Regions from separate parts of the Homo sapiens genome. Here all the other regions are linked to region 3. The links are contacts of gene promoters, found by promoter capture Hi-C in blood cells and fetal thymus (Javierre and others, 2016). All regions are on one chromosome and are shown on one strand. Each heading gives the region's core, a stretch centred on a gene start or on the middle of the fragment in contact. The rest is flanking DNA. Distances are from core to core; before and after follow the strand shown.

Region 1 (4,608 bases), core at 16-2,515, 5.9 Mb after region 3:
GGTTTCCACTTTAGTAGGCCCAGGAGTCATGCTTTATAAGGCCATCACAAATAAGCACCAATTAAATTCCACTCTCCCAAGAACAGCTCTGGCCAGCACAAACTCAGCCTATGGCACAAGGTTAAACCTCAAAGCTCTCTTGAGTAACAGCACCTGCCCCTGCTGACCAGTGTGAATTAATCTTCATGGCCTAACACTAGGTTCAGTTTCTAAAATAGGGTTTGATCTCAGGAGGCCACTGGAATGACAGAGCTTCCTCGAGGGCTTGTTTAGATCATAGAATTCTGCCCCTCCCCTCTGTGCCAAATCTAGCAACTCCTACTTGTTCTGTGACTCAGGGCAAACATCCTTGAACGCTCAGTGCTGGGTGAGGTGCTCATTCTGGATTATCATTAGGTTGGATGGAGTTCCCTGTTTCCCTTCCTGTGGTAGACAGTAAGCTCCCTCATGGCAGAGTCTGGGTCTTACTCTGTTGTATTCCCAGCTTCCAGCACAGTGCTTGGCACACATAATGACTTAATGAATCAGCATTTTAATATAGTAACAATTTAATTCTCACAATGGCCCAATGAGATAGGTACCAATATTCTTCCCATTTTACAAATTAGAAAACAGAAACATAGGCGATTAAGTAAGTTACAGAAGCAGGATTCAAATCCAGGCATTTCATCTGGGCATAATTACTTAATTAATCTTTTTTTAATATATATATTTTTTTCATGTAAGACTTCCTGCACCAACTTAATGAGTCTCTTAAAATATCTTGGTTTCTTTGGGGATCCTCCTATAAAAGTAACTTTTCCCCTTAAATCAGCATATAACAAGAGAGAACTATTCCTCAGCTAGGTGAAAATATCTCCACAGCATCTTTCTTTACACATCATCAGCACTCAGTGCATGTTTGCATGATTGATCGCTTGCTTCATTCATTCATCCAATAATGAATCAGTCCATCTCAGAGAAATAGTCTTGGTTTCTACCTAGCACCGAAGTGGCAAAGCAAACTAATTGAGAGTCTCAGAAGGCCATAATTTTAATATTTAAGTAACAACAACAAAGAACAAGAAACTACATCCCTGTCTCCTAATATCGCTGGCACACACTCTCTTTCTTCCCCTACCTTCCCTTCACCTGATCTGATAGCCCAAGACAGGAAGAGCTTCACCAGCCCATCATCATACTCACCCTCATTTGTGTGCTCCTACCAGGGCTCAGACCTGGTTTTTCTTCAAGAACACACTTAGGAATTGTGAGTCCAAGCACTTCATGGCCTGACATCCGGAAAACTTGCCCACCATTGTAGGTTCTTGTTCCATGTTGCCGTTGCTCAAATATTGAAATTATGGCCCGCCGAGACCCTCAGTTAATTTGCTTTGCTCCTGAGGTGCTAGGTAGAAATCAAGTTGGACCTTGTATTGGAGGTTAAAGGTATTTCTGGTTTATTTCTGGACTTCTCAGCAGTAGTTCAGAGTGGAGTGAGCTTTCTAAACTCATTTTCTTCTTTCCTCGTGAGATGATCTATCTCAATAATCTTCAATAGGTCCATGGCCAGGGATTATGCCAAGTTTAATGTTCATCATGACTACCCGATATATATTTGACAGTGCTTGATATAAAAACAATAGCTATCACATATAGGATTCACTATGTGCCAGATAATTCTAAACACTTCAATAATTAACAATTTAATTCTCACACTGACCCAATGAGATAGGTACCAATATTATTCCCATTTTACAGATTAGAAAACTGAAACATAGGGAGGTTAAGTAACTTGCCCAAAGTCTGACAACTTATAAATAGTAGATGCGGGATTCAAACCCAGGCATTTCATCTCTGGAGTCTTAATGTATTTTCATATACCTTAATAAATCTACCCCTACTATTATAAGCATATTGCATAAAACAGGGCACTGTCATAAATAATCATAATGATAATGCCTTCAGCAACAATGGCAGCATACATTCTGAAGCCTGATGGCATCTTCAAAGGAGAATGAGGAAGAGGTTATGGGATCTTCTTAAACCAATAAAAATAAACATTTTGTGATCTAAGACTTCATAGATGCTAACATTGGAACGGAGAAGATGTCTGTCCCTGGTCCCTTCTTCCCTCCTCATCTATCCATTTTCAGAAATAGGGGCTGTTCAAAAATAAACTAATGTTTCTCTCTCTCAACCCAGTCTAGAGACAGAAATCTCATCAATTCCCCCTGCAACCTCTACTCAGATAGAGCTTCACTATTGTTCACTGATTGGTTAATTGATTGGTTCATGCAATCAACAAACCAGGCTAGAAGATTCATGAGGCATAAAACATCCTATCCCTCTAAAGCTGCAACCTTCTTGGCATCTACACATGGGCAATTAATGAGGACCTCAGGATTCACATAGCTAAAGCTGAGCTCCTGAGAGTCCATCCCCAACCGCACTCCCCAGCCAGCTCCCTCTGCATCTTCTCCATTCCAGTTAATAGCAGCTTTATTCTCCCCATTGTTCCAAGCCAGAACCCTGGAATCACCCTGGATTCCATTCTCTCTCAGCCTACCTCCAACCCCTCAGAAAATCCTACTGGCTCCATCATGAAAATAGACCCAGAATTGGATCACTTCTCCCATTCCCCTGGTCTGAGCCACCATCCTCTCTCACCTGGGTTAGACTGTGCGCCACCTCCCCACCTCTGCAGCCTATTCTCAACAAGGCAAGCAGAAGGAATCTTAAAACAAATCAGCTCATGCCACTTCTCAAAATCTTCCAGTGGCTTTCCATCTCACTCAGAATAAAAACCAAAATCCTGACTATAATCTACAAGGTCCTGCATGACAACCACCCCCTCCCATTCATTCTCCTCCCTCCCCATGCACCGAGGCTCCACTTGCCATTCTTCTAATCCTCTAGCTATGTCCTCACCTCAAGGCCTTTGCACTTGTGTGGGGAGGAAAGAGCTTTCCAGCCACCTGCATGGCTTGCTCCCTCACCTTCCCCAGGTCCTTTAGAAATTATCTTCTCAATGAGATCTTCTCTGTTTACCCTATCTGAAGCTTCAGCAAATGTCCTGCAGTTTTCCTGCTTTTCACTTTCTCACTAGCACATACTGATATTTGACATACTGTGTGTGTGCTACATTTATCTTGCTTGTTGTCTGTCTTTTCTACCGTGGCACAAACATTTTTGCTGTTTCGTTCACTACTATATCCCCCGCCTGGAACAAAACTTGAAATTTAGTAGACATTCAATAAATATTTGTTGAACAAATGAATGAATAAGGACAGTAACACAGATGACAGCATTCAAGGGTATGCTGAGTGATAATGACCACCATGAGAATTAAGAGGCATTAATTCTTAATTCTCTCCATGAGAATTAAGATCACTTCTGGTGAGGGCAGTCACAGAAATGTCAAAAAGAAGGTAGGACTCTAGGTGGTGGACAGAACCTAGCACGCGGGATGTAAATGAGCATAACTCGGAAGCAGATTTGGAGAGGGGCCATTCATTAGAACATGTAGTTAATTTCCGAGCAGTTGATAGACAGTTCCCTACCATGAGAAACTGTTGAACAATAATATCTTTCTTTGGAGTTCTTCTGAGGATAATAATTTTATAAAGGGACTCGGATGTACTACTGAGTACAGGTTAAGTCAGCTGCTGATTACTGGCGCAAGAGGAGCTGAATCTCCTTTTAGCAATCCTTTAAAATTAAAAGGCTATTCAGACTACATCAGAACAGCACTGTCTTCCATTTCCTGTTCTCTTAAAGGTCAGGGTCTTTCCACTCTACCTACAAGTAAACGTTTAATCAACAGCATTTCCTAGTGATCCTGCAAACACTCATCTGCATTGCTATTAATCTTTTCCCCTATTTCCCTGGACAAAACGTTGAGCAAGGAACAGTGCTTGCCAAAGTAGAAGCAGAAATGCAAGAGAGAAGCTACGCAGCAGATGAATCCGAACCACCAGCAGCAATATTCCTATGGAAATAAACAAAGACAACTAAATGAGAAAAGTTAAAAGCGGTTTATTCAGAACTTGCCATAGCAAGGGAGCCAGCCACCATCGCTTGTGTTTTGGTGAGACTCCAAGGCAGGCAGAGGAGCGGGAAAGCTTTAAAGTGAGAAACAGGGAAGGTTTCAGGTGTGCCTTGATTGGAGGCTGTCTGCATGGGAGCAGGCTAACTAGAAGAGGAACATCTTATGGGATTTTAGTGGGGGCATATCTGGCTTTCTCTGGTTGGTCCTAAATTAAAAGTAAGAACAAAAATTAGAGGCTGGGCGTGGTGGTTCACGCCCTGTAATCCCAGCACTTTGGGAGGCCGAGGCAAGCAGATCATTTGAGGCCAGGAGTTCAAAACCAGCTTGGCCAACATGACGAAACCCCATCTCTACTAAAAATTTAAATAACTGGGCACAGTGGCGCGTGCCTATAGTTCCAGCTACTCGGGAGGCTGAGGCACAAGAATCGCTTGAACACGGGAGGCGTAGGCTGCAGTGAGCCAAGATTGTGCCACTGCACTCCAGCCTGGGCAATAGAGCAAGATCCTATATCAGGCTGGGCGCGGTGGCTCACGCCTGTAATCTCAGCACTTTAGGAGGCTGAGGCGGGGGGATCA
Region 2 (4,534 bases), core at 1,727-4,226, 7.9 Mb before region 3:
TTCCATAATATATAATACAGTACTCAATCTAATCCAAAATTTTCTTTCTTAGCAATCTATTTTCTGTATTTAGAAAAATGTTTTTTATTTCAAAGAGCCTCTCAAAGAGCATTTCACGTATCTTTTACTGTTTTTCTCTCCACCTCCAAGGGGTCTGTCTAGATCAGTGCTGTTCAACAGAATTATATGTAAGTCATAAAGGAGAGCTACCTACATAAAATTTTGTAGCAGCCACGTTAAAAACTGGTAAGAGATTAGATTAATTTCAATTAACTTAGGCCAATATATTTTAGGAACTATCACTTCAATAAGTAGTCAACAGAAAAAAATTGATCAGATACCGTACTTTACTTTTCAATTCGATTAAAAAGTAAAAAATCTCATGTGTATTTTATACTTCACATTTTGATTCAGACGAGCCACATTTCAAATGCTCAATACAGTACATGGCTACCATATTTTTTAAACAGCACAGGTCTGGACAAAAATTTCTCCCAGTCCTACCTTAATTACTAAGTAACCTGAAAATGCTTTTAAACACATAATTTCTTAGAAGTTCCTTCTATAAAAGGAATCTCTTAAATGAGTATCACGAGAAACTTCACAAGAACTTAAAATGCCTTGTTTATAATTTCTAAAAATTAGATAAATGAAAGGCAGCAAAAAGTTACTAAAAGTTAAAGTCAGCAGGCCAGGCGTAGGCTCACACCTGTAATCCCAGCACTTTGGGAGGCTGAGACAGATGGATCACGAGCTCAGGAGTTCGAGATCAGTCTGACCAACATGGTGAAACCCCATCTCCACTAAAAATACAAAAACTAGCTGGGCGTGGTGACACGCGCCTGTAATCCCACCTACTCAGGAGGCTGAGGCAGGAGAATCGCTTTAACCCGGGAGGCGGAGGTTGCAGTGAGCCGAGATCGCGCCACTGCACTCTAGCCTGGGTAACAGAGCGAGACTCTATCTCAAAAAAAAAAAAAAAAAAAAAAAAAGTTAAGGATGGCAGATTAGAAAGTTAAAGTCGATCTTAATAAAACAAGGGAAAGGGAACAGAAAGGAAAGAGTGTCATCATCTGAAGGTTCATAAAGAATACTTGAATTACATTTTTAAAACTCAAAAATACATAAACTTAGGCACACTTTACCCTCTTATATGTCTCTTGAGATTTTCCTTTTAAAAACTCCCCCCTTAAAAAGTGATCCGAATTCTCTTAAAGAACATACCTGATTTTTGGCTGCAACTCCGATTGTTCTATTTTTTGATCCAAATGATATGACTGACCTAGAAAAAAATATATTCCAAAAAATTAAAAAGCATAAAGGTTGATATTTTAAACTGATAAGAGAAAAATACTAACATAAATGTCCTACCCATTAGGGGATAGGGAACAAGCATAGCACAATTTTAAGGTCTATAGCTTTCATCAGATACTCAAAGGGGGCTTCCACTTAATTGCTGCTCTGAGATCCAACCTAGGTGGCAGTTCTACTACCCCAAAAACCTCTGCTCGTGGCTCAGGAATTCTCCAGGTTCCAGTTATTATGAACCGAACATTAACTTTGAAAATGTTTTAAATATGTTAACGGTATTATTAATTTGACCCTACACACGACTAACAAAAAATAGGATGTGACTCTACCTTTCAGTCACCAACTCTGTACAAATCTAAATGTCATTGTCATACCGACTTTTGTTCTGATATACCACCGGCTTCTTTAGGAATCAAAAGTTTTTATGCAAACGCAAGCAAATGAACCCAAGTTACACCTCTGAAGTTTAAAGAGCACAAAGAGGTTCCCATCTGGGAGATTCTGCCGGAGAAAGAAAAAAATGATGCACAACAAGTACCATGGCAAAACAGAATATAAATGTCGAGGGAAAGGAGTGACTAATCAGTTACATCAAATCTGTTTTGAAGAGATGGAAAGTGACTTACAACTGTGAAACAACCTTCTCAGCCACCATGGAAATGGAACCGCACAATAACAGAGCAGAGACTAGCTTAAAAAGTCTTGTGAGAAGAAGGTAAGTGAATTAGGTTTTGGATTAGAGGAGTTATCTAATTCTGGATTACTAATTCAAATATAATCTAATTTTGGGTGAGTTACTCCTACCTGCTTAGGTATGAGTAATGGTAAACGAGATGAGCAAAACGGGAAAATACTGAGGGCATTAAGTACCACCCTTAAGTTTAAATTTGCTATAATAGAAACATCCTCAAACTATATTATCTGAGCAAGTGTTAAATAAAATAGCATCCTAAAAGCCAGAGAAGTGTCCAAGCAGAAGCTAGACAAGAAACCGTCAAAATCAGAGCATCACTGTAAGCTCTGAATAACCATACACTTGCAGAATGGATCTACTCATTTTCCTAGGGGAGAATCAAATTAATTGTACTAAATAACAATTAGTAGCTGATACAATAGAATCCACCACAATTATAGTTTAACAAACATATTAAGGGGAACTCCAATACTGCCCTCAGTTCACATTTTTCAGGGCCATACCTGTTGTCTTTGATTTCACACAGTAGTCCCTGTATAACACAATTTTTTTTCCCACTCTCTTCTCTGAAAAGCTTTTCTTTGTTTTATTGGATCAACCAGAACAAAGTATAAACTGTATCTAGGCATGAAAGCCTGAAATACTGTTTTCTTTCTTACTAAACTCCAATTAAAAAAACCTTAACCAAAACACAAACTTAGATCTGCAGGGGTAGACGTACAGGTTGCTCAGAACAGTCTTCCTAACGTTACTAACATTGCCAAATATTTTGCCTCAGATTTTCCACTCAACTTTCATAAACGTTCTCAGCACCCAAATAATTGTATTACCCCAGTCATTCATTCTACCTTTAGGTTCAATGTTTTCATTTTGCACTTTTCATCCTGAGCTTGGGACATTTGAAAAAAATTAATAGGTACAGTATTTTCCTTGAGATGAAATCATTTGTTTTCATCAATGCACATGCAGATATGTTTGTATATATTCTCGTCCGAAAATATCCCTTCACGAAACTTGCTTTTTAAAATGTTGCCCTTTGCCCACCCTATGCTCCTATAGAATATTTAGTTCAGTGACGACATCCATCCTCTTTTGGCGTCCTAGCACAAAAGTATGCAATTTTTATTCTCTTTTAAATAAACTGTGCAAAATTAATTTTAAAAATACGGTTTACAATTCCTCATGAATGGCAAAGAGCAAAAAAAAAGACGTTTACATCTTTCGACAATGATCCCGGGCATTAAGGCCAACAATGTTAGCAACGAAGAGACTGGGTAAAAAGAGGTGGGCTAATCTTTCATAGGACTGCTTCCGTGGTCGCTAACAACAATCCGCCTGCTCACTGGACAAGCAGCGACACAAGCTCTGGAAGCTTCCAGTTCATTTCGAGATTCACAATGCGGAAGAAAAAGGCCGGCAGCCCCGCTCCGCGGTGCGCAAAGATATGCGCGAAGGGAGGAGGACAAGCTGGAGGCGGCTCAGCCAGCTCAGAGAGGCCGGGTGGGGATACGGGGGCGGCCGCGGAAGGCGCAGGCTGCAGCCTGCCAAGAAAAGGGAGCGAAGTTGCGGGCTTTGCCGCAGCCCGACCCCCAGTAGGTTTTGAAAACCCCCAATAGGAAGCCCGCACAAGGTGACGACCCTTAGAGTCTCGACTCTGGGACTCCTCTCACCCCCGTGAATCCCTGAGACAATCCCTTCTCCAATTTGTGATGGCAAGCCCCCCATCCCTCCTCTGGCCGGGTCGCTGGTCCCTAGTTCCACGGAGGGGTGCGCCGCTGCCCAAACGCCTCCGTTTGCCGCGGTGATCCGTACAGCCAGCCCGCGATCTTGGGTCCCCACACTAAGGGCCCAGAACCTCCTCCCATCCACCCTCGCAGACTCCCACTTACGGGGTGCACCGGTCGCTGAACTCATTGGCGATGGTCTCGATGCCCCCGGCCCGGGCTACCGCGATGTAGCAGCTCTGCGAGCCCACGTCCAACCCCACCACCGACATGGCCGGCTCGCGGTCCGCCTCCGCCTCGGGTCTCGGTCTGCGTCCTCCGGCCCCCTGCCTGCTTCTCCTGCCGCCGCTTTCTGCCCTGGCCGCGTTCTGCTCCGGCCCGCGGGGTCTGGCCGTTCCTCTGACACTCAGAAGGACACACAGACAGCCGCGGCCTGTCAGGAGCCTCCTACTCCCCCGGGGACAGCGGCGGCTGGCTGATAAGAAACCCTGGGAGAAAGCGGGGCTCAGCCTCCGCAGGTCGCTCCGCACCTCGGGTTGCCTGCCTCACTCTGCCGCGGCTCGCACACCGGCGCCGGCGCTGAACTACCGACCCAAAAGGGGAGGTCCCACTTCCTCAGCCTTATGTATCGCACTGATCAGAACTTTCCAGAATCTGCGGCATTTACTCACCGGCGCCTCCACCGGCCCCTCCACGTGCCACTTCCGCTTCCTTCTTCTCGAGCCTTCTGGAAAGATTCTACCCAATGGGCAGCCGGTCCCCGGAGAACGGCCGCCGTTGCCATGGCAGCGACAGGGCCGCTCCC
Region 3 (4,184 bases), core at 1,685-4,184:
CTCAGTAGTTCAATATTCACTGAAAAGGGAGAAAATGGCATTCTAAATAATGTATTCCTAGGAGTTTTATTATCAATGTAATAATCGGACACAGTCAAATACAAGTTTCTGAACAAAGTCTTGGATTGTACTGATGCCAAGTCATATCTCAATTCTTCCATCAATGCCTGAGAGGCCCAGCTGTAACCCCAGGCAGGACAGCATGGTGCTCTGCAAGCATAGTTTGAATACTGCCCCCAGCCCCCAACTTACCACCTAGGGAGTCTTGAGCTGATAGTTAACCTCACAGAGAATAGGCCACCAGCTATAAGCAAGAAGTACAGTGCCTACACCTCATGCGTTGTAAGGAGAATCAAAACAAATAATGACTGGAGAAAGTGCTTAAAAACAGGCTCACAAAGTAAGTGCTCACTAATTAATAGCTATCATTCCCTCCTTTTTGAATAATCAGTTAACCATTGCTTTTTCCCCCTTTCTACTCCCTTTCCCAGTTCTTCTGCTAGTGGCTTCTTATATGCCTCTGTTTTAAATGACAGTAGTGACAATCAGTATTATCTATCATATAAACTCACTGTGATACTCAAGAGATGACCTGGTTTAAACTGACTTACATTTACAAAGAACGATTTTTAAGAAAATCAGTAGTAATGCTCATATTTAGATATGCCAATATTTTATTCCATTTTAATAGACCATGACAATGTTGATGTGTCTAATCACTCGGCAAAGCCAGCAGAAGATATATTTTAACTGCTGACCAGAAATACAGACTTAAGTTGCCATCTCATGTGAACAACACTTTCATATCTGGAAAATTTCCTATTCCCCTCTTTAGAATTTACTGTGACGTTTTTATGACACCAGGAAGAGAATATGCACACTGAGACCCTGTATCTTCCAAAAGTAAAAATCTGCTGGTCTACTTGGACTCACCAATTATTTTCTCATGAAAAGTAATTAAAAATCAGCCCAAGAACAAATTGTGACAAATTTCTAGGCATATAATTAGCAAACCAATATTTTATTTCAAAAATTAATTGGACACTTAGGTTTGCAAAAGCAGAACTTGTTCAAAAAAGAATGTTCAGTATTATCAAATATGAAAACTTAAACACGTCAATTTGAAAAAAGAAAAAAGCTGTATAAAAACAAAGCAAAACAGCAAGACCAGAGACAATTTTAATAATAGCTTTGTAAACTGAAATAAGCACCAGAGCACATGGCAACAATTTCTTCCGTTTCAGTCAAGGGTCGTAAAGGTATGCAGCTGACGAAAGAATAATTGCCCGGAAGGCCGAAGGAAAGCACCGTGTGTTGATGTAACAATGGTACATCAAGTCCTTACATTTTAAAATAAGTAACTTCTCGGTATTTTTGTGCTTGAGATATTGTTAGGCTCAAGACTACCTTCCAGAATTGTTGCTGTCTGGTTCACTCTGGGAAATGCGATCCACACAACAGCCTCAAAAAGCAGCAAAAACTTGGAAAGCAGGAGAAAAAAGTTTTGAAGCTCAAGTTATTGACGGCCAATTCCTAAGAACGTGACTTTAAACTTAATGCCACACTTACCATCAGGACACGAATTTTGCATGGCCAACGCAACAAATATACTCTACCTTATGCTTAGATTTGAAAACCCCATCATAATAACTACCATAAAAGAAACTTTCTGCGTATTACCTCTCGTTTTCAGTCACTCTTGTGTTACTGAAAGATGAGGCAATAAACTCAAAAATATTAAACCCCTTACCCAAAAAGTACAGAGCTATTACGGATTTGTAAAGCCGGCTTTGGAACCGAGGGCTTTACAAATGTAATTCCCACGACACCGTGCTGAGTCTCAAATTTGGCGTTAACGTAACTTAATTTCTATTTGTACTGGAAACGTATCAAGATATAAACTCCTCCATTACACGTGAAAATTCAAACCAATTTGGCAATCCTAGGACCCTTATTCTGCACAATCTCCATACAGTACCTCAAAGAGAGTCTAAAACACGAGAATTCATCTCATAAAATAATTCATGGAATCGGTCTAATTACCTTTCTAATTTCATCCAGCACCATTTCAAAGGACTTTTTATCCATCTTGACTACTATCCCGACGTGGTTTTAACAGTTATACTTGCAATTAAAAGACGTTCATCCCTGGTCTGCTCCGCCGATAGTAAAAAATATTTATAGCTGAGGAGGAAAAAGACTCCACGAGCAAGAGAGGATGCGAAGAGGTAGAGAGTATTGCAAACTTCGCAAAAAAAATTTCTAAAAATTGAGATTCAGAAAAACTCTTTTTATTAAAAAGAAAAAACACTCCAGTCAGGCTTCCCCAGCTTATTCACACAATGGTTCAGGGCACCTCGGGCAAGAGCCAGGTCCTCTGAGTTTTGCAGAAAAACCCGGGCTCGGCGGCAGGTTTGAGTGCGGTTTCCCTGCAGCTGAGGGCCAGGTGCCGCCAGAGGTAGCTCTTGAAGGCGCTTTCCCAGGTGGAGCGGCCGGCAGAGTAGAAACACCTGCGCTCAGAGTCCACGGGCGGCGGGGAGGGAGGCGCCGGTCTCTCGACCCGCACCTGCGCCTCGGCCGCCGGCCGCGACCCTCACCGCCGCGAACCCGGACGCATGGTCCGGCTCGCGCTCATCCCCAGCCGCTCCGCCCGACTCCTGGATACCTCGGCCCCGGCAGCAGGCGGCCCGGCAGGCTCTTTGTTACCAGCTGCTGCAGCTTCCGGGAGCGGGCCGGCGGCTGGGGAGCACCAGGAGCCGGGCGAAGAGGGGCACGGCCTCGCATAGGGGGACTCCGGAAAAACGCAGCCCCAACAGCGCCAGACGCCCTGCCTGGTTACCCCTACAGCCCCCACCAGCTCATGGGGACCTACAATAAAGCCAGTCGCGCCCAAGTAAACTCAACACTGCGCCGCCAGCTTGGGCCCCTCTTTCCTGAAAGCCAGAGGTGGGGTCCTGGTGTGGGAATATAGGCATCCATAGCGGATGCCTGGATGGTAGGAATAGGATGTGGCAAAAATCCTTCCCGAAGCCTAGCGGTCATTATTTTGAATGTCATCCCCACCATACCTCGTGTCTGAGTGTGCGATGTTTTGATTTTGCCCTCTGGATTAAAAAGAATAAATGGCGAGCGATTAAGGCATATCTACGGGCGCCCATACTTTGGTGGCCACTGAAAGTCAGCGGCGCGGACTGCCCTGAGGGCGGGAAAGGGTGGTCACTGGGTCAGCCCGAAGCACCTGACATGAGGGCGGGGACCCCGAAATGCACACGAAGTCCGGAACTGGTCTTCTGTGATTTTCATTCGCCCTGGTCTCTGTTCCCTTTCGTACTCAAAGCTCGTGCATCCAGGGAGGGGAAACCGGAGATAGGGTCTTCGGGCCCCGGGCAGACCCTCTGTGCCGCTGCAAACCGTTGCAGCCTGAGGCTGTCAGGTCCTCCCCCAGACACCTGCGGACCCTCCCTCTCCTGGCTTCCCGTCTGGTCATGGCGAGATTCTGGGTCTGCGTAGCCGGTGCTGGCTTCTTTCTTGCATTTTTGGTTTTGCATTCGCGTTTTTGTGGCTCTCCAGTGAGTTGGGTAGTGAGGAAATGACTGTCGGGTGTGCGGGTAGCCCTGTTGGGAGGCGTCGCCACGGTCGTGGCATGGAGGTGGCAGGCCCTGGTTCCCTCAGTAGCTTGTCTCAAAGCCTGCACCTGGGTCCAAACTGCCTTGACCCTTTGAGTTTAAAAATTTGTGTATGTTACATCGCCATTTTCCTCTTTCCCAACTCTTACTACATCCTCAAATAATTTGCAGACTTGTATTGTGGTCGTGTTGGTCTTTAGGCATCTAAGCTCATTTCTTTGGAATTATTTCAGTCCAGCAAACTTCTAGTTGTCAAGGCATGCTTAAAAATAAGCCCTGTTACCCGGCCCCCCCGCCCTTTTTTTGTTCTTACCTAGACGGTAAACTAAATCTGAATTGTCTGATTTTGTTTAAGGTTTTGAGGAACTTTACTTTTGCAGTTTCCTGGAGAACTGAGAAAATTCTTTACCGGCTGGATGTGGGTTGGCCTAAGCACCCAGAATATTTTACCGGAACAACATTTTGTGTTGCAGTTGACTCCCTCAATGGATTGGTTTACATAGGTCAAGTAAGTAAATAGAGATTTAAAAAAATTATGAACACAAAGGAAGTAACAGC

Evidence for each region. Contacts are between HindIII fragments. The CHiCAGO score rates a contact against its expected background, and 5 or more counts as called.
Region 1: a fragment that was not itself captured here is called in contact with the fragment with the promoter of PROSER1 in region 3 in 1 of 17 cell types (total CD4 T cells); the score reaches 5.2 in total CD4 T cells.
Region 2: a contact is called between a fragment that was not itself captured here and the fragment with the promoter of PROSER1 in region 3, in 1 of 17 cell types (naive CD8 T cells). The highest score is 5.6, in naive CD8 T cells.

Annotation. Positions count from the first base shown.
Region 1 is chr13:44,922,322-44,926,929 of GRCh38, forward strand. It overlaps LOC107984619 (a long non-coding RNA gene), which reads right to left and starts at 2,659. Exons shown (of 2, transcript XR_001749860.1): 1 at 1,186-2,659. The HindIII fragment of the contact is 3,548 bases long and covers 1-3,039 here.
Region 2 is chr13:31,157,582-31,162,115 of GRCh38, forward strand. HSPH1 (heat shock protein family H (Hsp110) member 1) reads right to left here and starts at 4,323. Exons shown (of 18, transcript NM_006644.4): 1 at 3,895-4,323; 2 at 1,225-1,282. The coding sequence starts at 4,001. RefSeq lists enhancers at 3,417-3,962, 3,963-4,508, 4,120-4,199, 4,330-4,449. The HindIII fragment of the contact is 798 bases long and covers 2,578-3,375 here.
Region 3 is chr13:39,035,155-39,039,338 of GRCh38, forward strand. It overlaps PROSER1 (proline and serine rich 1), which reads right to left and starts at 2,935. Exons shown (of 13, transcript NM_025138.5): 1 at 2,044-2,935. The coding sequence starts at 2,088. It overlaps NHLRC3 (NHL repeat containing 3), which reads left to right and starts at 3,302. Exons shown (of 7, transcript NM_001012754.4): 1 at 3,302-3,569; 2 at 3,982-4,134. The coding sequence starts at 3,486. RefSeq lists an enhancer at 1,164-1,273 and a silencer at 2,416-2,645. The HindIII fragment of the contact is 10,591 bases long and covers 1-4,184 here.